Linked DNA regions of Homo sapiens: regions 2 and 3 are each linked to region 1. The links are contacts of gene promoters, found by promoter capture Hi-C in human tissues and cell types (Jung and others, 2019). All regions are on one chromosome and are shown on one strand. The core of a region is centred on a gene start or on the middle of the fragment in contact, and the rest is flanking DNA. Distances in the headings are between cores, read along the strand shown.

Region 1 (3,179 bases), core at 391-2,890:
TTCCCAATTGATAGACATGTGGGTTGTTCTACATATTCTCTATTACAATCAATGCTGATCTGTGTATCTAGCTATCCAGCTGGCATAGAGAGGCATATGGTGGATTTGTACACACACGTACACATACACATACACACTGCACACACATACCATGCAAATATAAGATAAATTCTTGGAATGACTAATTCTAGTAGCTTATAAATTTGTATAGGTATTGTCAAATCAGCCTTTTTCTTTCACTCCCAAGTTGGGAATTGCTGGGGACTCTCAAAACCATGTCACTGACTCCATTTTTGGTTGTGGGAGCTGGGAGCCCCTCCATTTCCTCTTCCCAGTTCTTTCTTCTGCAGCTGCCCCCAGGTTTGTTCTCCATGATCCAGCAACTTCTGTCTCCATCCCCCGTTCTCAGAAGGCTCCATCTCCTCCTTCCCCAAGAAAGTTGCAACTGCCCTCAGCTTTCCTCCCTCCCTCCTCAGGGAGTACCAACATCTCTCTCTTATCTTTATTCTTCTTTGTGAGGCTGATATGCTAAATTTCATCTAGTTTTCCCCAAACTCAAACCACTACCTCTCTACTGCTGCCTTCTCCCTCTCCATTTCCATCCCTAGCACTACTACAAAGGAACCCCATCCAGTCCAGCCGGTTGGCTTGCTCCTCCCCTCCTCCCACTCCAGTTCACGCTCCAGCCCACTGAAGAGTGGTGCCCACCCCTAGGCCCCTGCCTAAATGGCTCTTCCAGAAACACCAGTGACTTCCCACTCACCAAAGTCTGGGGCCGTTTCCTCAAGATCCTGCCCACTCCCTGACCCTTCCCTCCCTTGGGGCCACCATGGCTGCTTCTGGATGACTCAATCAGACACCCACATTGCAGTCCCATCCTTCCTGTTCAAATGAAAACATCTCATTTCAACAGCTCTCTTCATCTTCAGGACTAAGTCAGCCCCTTACACAAAGGACTCATGAGGGACATGCAGTCTGTGTGCCCAGCCTGAGCCCAAGGGTCTATTCTGATCCTTTTTTTTTTTTTAAGATAAAGGTTTTTGCAGGTATAATAGGGGTCTCCAACAAAAAGTAAAGAATAATTTTGTAGAAAGATTTTGAGACTTTCCTAACTCTCCGAAACTACACAAGCTGGTCCTTTTGACTTGGAAGCTAAATTTCTAAGATGGAAAGTCACATGTATGAGTGGGAGGCATGAAACCAATTATTCGACCTGTCTGGGGTCATGAGTGCAGAGGCGGCTCCTACGAACCATCTGCCTCTTCAAGTGTGGATGAGAGGTGGGTATGGCGGATGCTTGTCATTTCCCAATGGCTCGAGTGGATGTGGGGAGTATGGGAGTGAGGGCAAAAGAGAAAAGAGGGAGAGAGGCCGTCCAAGCTTTCACAACTCACTCTCTTGTGTTTGAAAATATCTGATTTCATTATTTTCTATAATTAATTTCTAGAACATCTATTCTGAGGAAAATGCTAGAAAGAAATATGCTATTCATTTGTATCAGCATTACTCTTTGTTGATATTAAATGGCTCAGTCACTTTATGGGGGAAATAAAGAGGTTGATTCATGGTGATGTGACCCTCTCGACACTTCTGGTTCCCTTTTTCCTGCTATATATCAAGACCTACAGCCCTTGGGAAGTGCATTTCTGCATTCGAAGAAGAATCTGAGAGAAACCTGTAAGTAAACTTTCAGAATAATCTTATTTCTAAAATTGCTTTTAAAAAAGTACTAGTAAATTGGAATAAACAATTGTGACCAGAGCATACTTTAAGGCCCCCTATACCCCGACAGTCTCCCTATGTATGGAAGTATCAGAAAGTCTTTTCATGTTGGTATCTGAATATCCTCTGCTCAGGGAAAACTGCAGCATGAATATCTTCTTATGGGTGTAGCCTGGGTATACGCGAGCCACCCTTCACTTTATGAATCCCCTCAGCTAATCCTCCTGGTGGTTATGGGGAGCCCTAGGCTGGCTCAGTCCTGCCTGGCCAACGATGCAGCTCCCGGCACCTGGCACACGCAGCAATGGGCTGAATTGTTCCGTAAATGCTATTCTGTTTACCTAGTAGCGTTCATTAATCTTTCCTTTCTTGTGTGAAGGCTGCTTTCACAGAGGAAGGCATTTGCTGGCTTTCCCAAGGCAAGAACAATGAAAACAAAGTCATGAGGAGTTCTCTCTACCTCAAATGAAGGCCGCAGCTCCTGCTCAAGCTATTTTGGCAGTCTGAGAGAACAGTACATTCTGAACCACATTGTAAGTTTGCAAGAGCTTATACAAAAAAGAAAGGGAGAAAAAAGGAAAAGGAAAAGAAACCCTCCATTCTTCTTTTGTTCCACTCCCAGGTGCTGGGCTTTGATGTTCTGTCTCAGAAGTGACTGCAGAACGCCAGCTCCAAGAACCAGCTCCGCTGCTCACTGCACCTTTCATTTCAGAGAGCATGGGGCTAGTGGGGACCTTAGAACTCAGCTAGCCCATAGGAGCTGAGGTCCAGGAGGTGACATGACCTATCCAAGGCCACGCAACCTGGCTTGGGTAGAGGCAGGTTGGACCACAGGTCTCCGTTTGGCGCTCTTTTCCTGTTCTGCTCTGTCCTTTGATCAAATTCCTTTTAAAATGAGATTCACATCAAGCCAGTGAGGGAGGCTGATGGGTTCAGACTGGGTTCCCGCAGGGGACCGGCAGGGCTGGTTGAGGAGTACAGAAAGAACAGAGTGCTTGTCCGTTTGGGTTTATTGTCCCCTGGGGTGTCTGCAGACTATATCTGGGCTTGTTGAGCATAAGCCATTGGCTTCTGCACAGGCAGAGTCAGAATGAACTGGTGTCACTTAATGGGAATTGCAGGACATCAGATGAGGCAGGAGCTTTGGAAATGGGGAGAGAGGGGAGCAATAAGATGCTCCCAAGGTCATTGTCTCCTGGCCTTTCCTCCAGAGAAGGTCACATTTCTTCCTCCCACACTTTCAATAGCAGTAAGCCTGTGGGTTTCTGCTTACCAGCTCTGGAGACACATGGGTGATGTGCAGCTTCAATACCCCTCCAGTCTAGAAAGCTCCTAGGGTGGGCCATTCATGTGGAGATTCTCATTATTATTTCATGGCTCCATTTTTTGTAGCTTCTGACTGGACCTTGTATCTGAAGCAAGGACACATTCATCTGCACCTTGAAAGTTGATCTGTG
Region 2 (3,179 bases), core at 245-2,744, 580 kb before region 1:
TATCATCAGTGCATATGTATCTGTGCACAAACACAGAAGAGAAGGCGATGTGAAGATTTAACAGAGAGAGTTCGAAGATGCTGTTTTTGAATATTGGATTGATGTGGCCACAAGCCAAGGAATGATGATACTCACCAGAAGCTGATTGCCAGAGGAGACAAGGAACTGGTTTTCCCTAGAGCCTTCTGAAGGATCATGGCCCTGTTGACATCTTGATTTTGGTCAGGTGATATTGAAATTGGACTTCTTGTCCCAGAGCTGTGAGGGAATACATTTCTTGTTGTTTTAAGCCACCAGTTTGGGGTAATTTGTAATTTGAGTCATGGAAGTTTCCATTTTTCCCCCTTCTGTAATATTTTTGAATAAGTTTTAGATAGCTATCTAGAGTTAGATAGACTTTAGATAGCTATCTAGGACCTCCTGTCTTTCTCTTCTTCTCTTTCTTCCTTCCTCTTTCCTCTGAACTTACTTCTTCCTTATTAATAATTTCATGATTGCCTTCATGCAGTCTCTGGGATCTCCAGTTCAGAACCAGATATTCATTAATGAGCTGTGGTCTTGCCTCAATCTTGGTATTGAGTGATATTGCAAATTAATATATTAGTGATATTTTACATTAGTGATCTTATAAATTCATATATACAAACCAAGTCTGTGGAGGCTTTGTTCAGTGTCAAAGTTACAAGTGTGTCCCACTTGCCCAAGCCTACAGCTTCTAGGAAGCTGTAGGTTGAGAAGATTTCCACAGCATTTTTTTCAGCTTTTTTTTATTAATGAAGACGTGAACATGAATTTCAGTTTGTCATTTCACATGCAGCACTTCTAGTTCTGTTAAACCATAAGACCTGTGCTCTTATTCACTGGTACCTGCTGTTTGGCTGGGGACATAGTAGACCTGAGGCTTTAGCTCTGCTAATTTCCTTTCATTTCTTTTTTACTTTTATTTATTCATTTATAAGTTAAAATTCTGGGTGTAGAAACAACAGTCTTTCTATTGAAAGACATGTCTGCTTTTAGCAGAAGAAAGGTTAAAAGTTTAGATTTATATCATGGCATAAAACAACTTACTTACAAATTACAAATAAGTAGAGAAAAATAGAGTTTGGGAAAAGTAATAGAGAGGGTTAAAAGTTTAAATTTAGGCAAAGTGGTAAAACTCACTATAATTTTAATTGGATGAAATCGATGAAATGGGAAGACTGAAGCTCATTACTTCAAGCTGAGGGTATTTGGGGAAAGTGTTAGGTATACAGAAAAGAACAGTCAAGGAAAAGCTTGTTTCTTCTATTCTTCTACATTGTAGGGGAGGAGAAAGAAGACAGGTGAGGCCAGTAGATGATTAGAGGTATGTTCCAGTCTCTTCTTTCCAGGCTTTGACTCAGGACGAGGATGCATTTTTGTTAAATTGAAGGGCATCTTTTACTCTTATTATTATTTGAGATCCATGGAAGGGAATCACCCTTCGGGATGCCCTAGCATCCATCAGGGGCATAGATACTTCAGAATGAACTTGGCAGCGGATCATGATTAAGAAAGGCCAAGAAGGACAGGTGTGGTGGCTCACGCCTGTAATCCCAGCACTTTGGGAGGCCGAGGCAGGCGGATCACGAGGTCAGGAGATCGAGACCATCCTGGCTAACACGGTGAAACCCTTTCTCTACTAAAAATACAAAAAATTAGCTGGGCGTGGCGGTGGGCGCCTGTAGTCCCAGCTACTCGGGAGGCTGAGGCAGGAGAATGGCGTGAACCTGGGAGGCGGAGCTTGCAGTGAGCAGAGATTGTGCCACTGCACTCCAGCCTGGGCGACAGAGCGAGACTCCGTCTCAAAAAAAAAAAAAAAAAAAAAAAAGAAAAGAAAAAAGAAAGGCCAAGAAAAGGCCAGACTTGACTTCCAGAACTGTCCTTTGTTCTAGTGTGGCATGAGCATAACTACATGTCCCAGACATGACACCTATCTATAGTGAGGGATGAGATGACTTTGCAGAAGAAGCTGCAGAATAGACAGCTTTTGCCATAGTGGAATAGAGGGTCATTCAGGGACTAAGTGTTTGGCAGTGCTGGTGGGAACCGAAGTGAGATCAGGTTTATTGAGAAGTGCAAGTCTGTCTAAGTTGAGAAGAATCAGACTATCGATTGGATGAGCTGCAGGTTGTGTAGCAGCATAAGCCTCACAGAACACCTGAATACTTTCTTGGAGAACAGCCAAAAAAGGAGCAGAAATATCAGAAATAGAGAACTTGTCCAAAGGAGCTATTATTTATTGGACTACAATTTACTGAGTAGCTTTAAAGAAGAATCTGGCAAGTGTGCTGTTGACAAAAATCAGATCAAAAATAGAGAAATAAATACGCTACCTTTCTTTGTGAGTAAATTTTTCAAAGCCACAGCGATAGCCAACATAGAAGGATTTGTAACAGCTAAGACTGGGAAATGCTTAAGGTTAAAGCTCTCAGGAGGATGTGCTGTTGCCTCCCAAGAGATTTAATGAAGACCCATCAGACATTCCTGCTTCAGCCTGTAAGTGTGACTATTGCTAGAAATGCTGTGATTACAATTCATGGTAAATCTGGAAGTTCTGCTGCTTGTATCAGGGGCATCAGATGAAGAAAATTTCTGATTTTTGTTTTGTAATCCAGAATCTTAGTATTTACAGATGACAGTATCTCTTAATTGCCTAAGGAATCCTATTAGAAAATGTTAACCTTCTGGGATATGAGCCAATGTGTCTACTTTCAAAATCCACCATGGCAGTGCTGGGTGAGGGCTTGTAGTTTAGTAGCGCAAGCTACCCTTGAATTCTGCCTTTTTAGAGACACAGACACCATGGATCTGATCATGGGAATGCTTTAGGGTAATGCTCTGGTTGAGCCTCTGGATTTCCAGACCTATTGTAGATCTCTGCATTCTTGTTTTTTTTCCAAACACAATGTGGGCCAGAGGGAAAGATCTATGGTGGGACTGCATTCCTTTTGTAACATTTACCGTAATTATAACAATATTTGTGCAATTATTTGTTTGCTTATTGTCTCCCTAGTACACTTTATACTCTGTAGCAAAATGTATATTTGTTGAGCTTTATTCACCAGCTGTTAGCATAGCATTTGGCATATAGTAGCCATTTAGTAAATATTGTATAAGTAAATAAATAATGAATTGGTGTTAATAGTTACTTGCCCATC
Region 3 (3,179 bases), core at 455-2,954, 550 kb before region 1:
ACCCCACTGTCAACAAGAGACAGATCAACGAGACAGGAAGTTAACAAGGATATCCAGGAATTGAACTCAGCTCTGCACCAAGCGGACTTAATAGACATCTACAGAAGTCTCCACCCCAAATCAACAGAATATACATTCTTCTCAGCACCACATCGCACTTATTCTAAAACTGACCACATCGTTGGAAGTAAAGCACTCCTCAGCAAATGTAAAACAACAGAAATTATAACAAACTGTCTCTCAGACCACAGTGCAATCAAATTAGGACTCAGGATTAAGAAACTCACTCAAAACCTCTCACCTACATGGAAACTGAACAACCTGCTCCTGAATGACTACTGGATGCATAACGAAATGAAGGCAGAAATAAACATGTTCTTTGAAACCAATAAGAACAAAGAAACAATGTACCAGAATCTCTGGGACACACTTAAAAGAGTGTGTAGAGGGAAATTTATAGCACTAAATGCCCACAAGAGAAAGCAGGAAAGATCTAAAATTGACACCCTAACATCACAACTAAAAGAACTAGAGAAACAAGAGCAAACACACTCAAAAGCTAGCAGAAGGCAAGAAATAACTAAGATCAGAGCAGAACTGAAGGAGGTAGAGACACAAAAAACCCTTCAAAAAATCAGTGAATCCAGGAGCTGGTTTTTTTTTTTTTTTTTTAAAGATCAACAAAATTGATAGATCGCTAGCAAGACTAATAAAGAAGAAAAGAGAGAAGAATCAAATAGACGCAATAAAAAATGAGAAAGTGGATGTCACCACCAAACCCAAGGAAATACAAACTACCATCAGAGAATACTATAAAGACCTCTATGCAAATAAACTAGAAAATCCGAAAGAAATGGATAAATTCCTGGACACATACACCTTCCGAAGACTAAACCAGGAAGAAGTTGAATCCCTGAATAGACCAATAACAGGCTCTGAAATTGAGGCAATAATTAATAGCCTACCAACCAAAAAAAGTCCAGGACCAGATGGATTCACAGCCGAATTCTACCAGAGGTACAAAGATGAACTGGTACCATTCCTTCTGAAACTATTCCAATCAATAGAAAAAGAGGGAATCCTCCCTAACTCATTGTATGAAGCCAGCATCATTCTGATACCAAAGCCAGGCAGAGACACAATAAAAAAAGAGAATTTTAGACCAATATCCCTGATGAACATCGATGCAAAAATTCTCAATAAATACTGGTAAACTGAATCCAGCAGCACATCTAAAAGCTTATCCACTACGATCAAGTGGGCTTCATCCCTGGGATGGAAGGCTGGTTCAACATACGCAAATCAGTAAACGTAACCCCTCATATAAACAGAACCAAGACAAAAACCACATGATTATCTCAATAGATGCAGAAAAGGCCTTCGAGAAAATTCAACAGCCCTTCATGCTAAAAACTCTCAATAAACTAGGTATAGATGAGACATATCTCAAAATAATAAGAGCTGTTTCTGACAAACCCAGAGCCAATATCATACTGAATGGGCAAAAACTGGAAGCATTCCCTTTGAAAACTGGCACAAGACAGGGATGCCCTCTCTCACCACTCCTATTCAACATAGTGTTGGATGTTCTGGCCAGGGCAATCAGGCAGGAGAAAGAAATAAAGGGTATTCAATTAGGAAAATAGGAAGTCAAATTGTCCCTGTTTGCAGATGACATGATTGTATACATAGAAAAACCCCATTGTCTCAGCCCAAAATCTCCTTAAGCTGATAAGCAACTTCAGCAAAGTCTCAGGGTACAAAATCAATGTGCAAAAATCACAAGCATTCCTATACACCAATAACAGACAAACAGAGAGCCAAATCATGAGTGAACTCCCATTCATAATTACTACAAAGAGAATAAAATACCTAGGAATCCAACTTACAAGGGATGTGAAGGACCTCTTCAAGGAGAACTACAAACCACTGCTCAACGAAATAAAAGAGGACATAAACAAATGAAAGAACATTCCATGCTCATGGATAGGAAGAATCAATATCGTGAAAATGGCCATACTGCCCAAGGTAATTTATAGATTCAATGCCATCCCCTTCAAGCTACCAATGACTTTCTTTACAGAATTGAAAAAAACTATGTTAAACTTCATATGGAACCAAAAAAGAGCCCACATTGCCATGACCATCCTAAGCCAAAAGAACAAAGCTGGCAGCATCACACTACCTGACTTCAAACTATACTACAAGGCTATAGTAATCAAAACAGCATGATACTGGCACTAACACAGAGATATAGACCAATGGAACAGAACAGAGCCCTCAGAAAGAATACCACACATCTAAAACCATCTGATCTTTGACAAACGGAACAAAAACAAGAAATGGGGAAAGAATTCCCTATTTAATCAATGGTGCTGGGAAAACTGGCTAGCCACGTATAGAAAGCTGAAACTGGATCCCTTCCTTACAACTTATACAAAAATTAATTTATGATGGATTAAAGACTTAAATGTTAGACCTAAAACCATAGAAATCCTAGAAGAAAACCTAGGCAATACCATTCAGGACATAGGCATGGGCAAGGACTTCATGACTAAAACACCAATGGCAATGGCAACAAAAGCCAGAATAGACTAATGGGATCTAATTAAACTAAAGAGCTTCTGCACAGCAAAAGAAACCACCATCAGAGTGAAGAGGCAACCTACAGAATGGGAGAAAATTTTTATAATCTACCCTTCTGACAAAGGGCTAATATCCAGAATCTACAAAGTACTTAAACAAATTTACAAGAAAAAAATCAAACAACCCCATCAAAAAGTGGGCAAAGGATATGAACAGACACTCCTCAAAAGAAGACATTTATGCAGCCAACAGACACATGAGAAAATGCTCATCATCACTGGCCATCAGAGAAATGCAAATCGAAATCACAATGAAATACCATCTCACACCAGTTAGAATGGCGATCATTAAAAAGTCAGGAAACAACGGGTGATGGAGAGGATGTGGAGAAATAGGAACACTTTTACACTGTTGGTGGGACTGTAAACTAGTTCAACCATTGTGGAAGTCAGTGTGGCAATTCCTCAGGGATCTAGAACTAGAAATACCATTTGACCGAGCCATCCCATTACTGGGTATATACCCAAAGGATTATAAATCATGCTGCTATACAGACACATGCACATGTGTGTTTATTGTGGCACTATTCACAA

The links. Contacts are between HindIII fragments. The study calls those that stand out against the background at their distance.
Region 2: a fragment that was not itself captured here is called in contact with the fragment with the promoter of DCSTAMP in region 1 in 1 of the 25 tissues and cell types used here (H1 embryonic stem cells).
Region 3: a fragment that was not itself captured here is called in contact with the fragment with the promoter of DCSTAMP in region 1 in 1 of the 25 tissues and cell types used here (dorsolateral prefrontal cortex).

The regions. Positions count from the first base shown.
Region 1 is chr8:104,338,186-104,341,364 of GRCh38, forward strand. DCSTAMP (dendrocyte expressed seven transmembrane protein) reads left to right here and starts at 1,641. Exons shown (of 4, transcript NM_030788.4): 1 at 1,641-1,677. The HindIII fragment of the contact is 10,500 bases long and covers 1-3,179 here.
Region 2 is chr8:103,757,740-103,760,918 of GRCh38, forward strand. The region is part of intron 5 of RIMS2 (regulating synaptic membrane exocytosis 2); the gene reads left to right. Among named protein-coding and RNA genes, the nearest start is that of RIMS2, 260 kb to the left of the region's middle. The HindIII fragment of the contact is 6,148 bases long and covers 1-3,179 here.
Region 3 is chr8:103,791,984-103,795,162 of GRCh38, forward strand. All of the region lies in intron 6 of RIMS2 (regulating synaptic membrane exocytosis 2), which reads left to right. Among named protein-coding and RNA genes, the nearest start is that of RIMS2, 290 kb to the left of the region's middle. The HindIII fragment of the contact is 7,799 bases long and covers 1-3,179 here.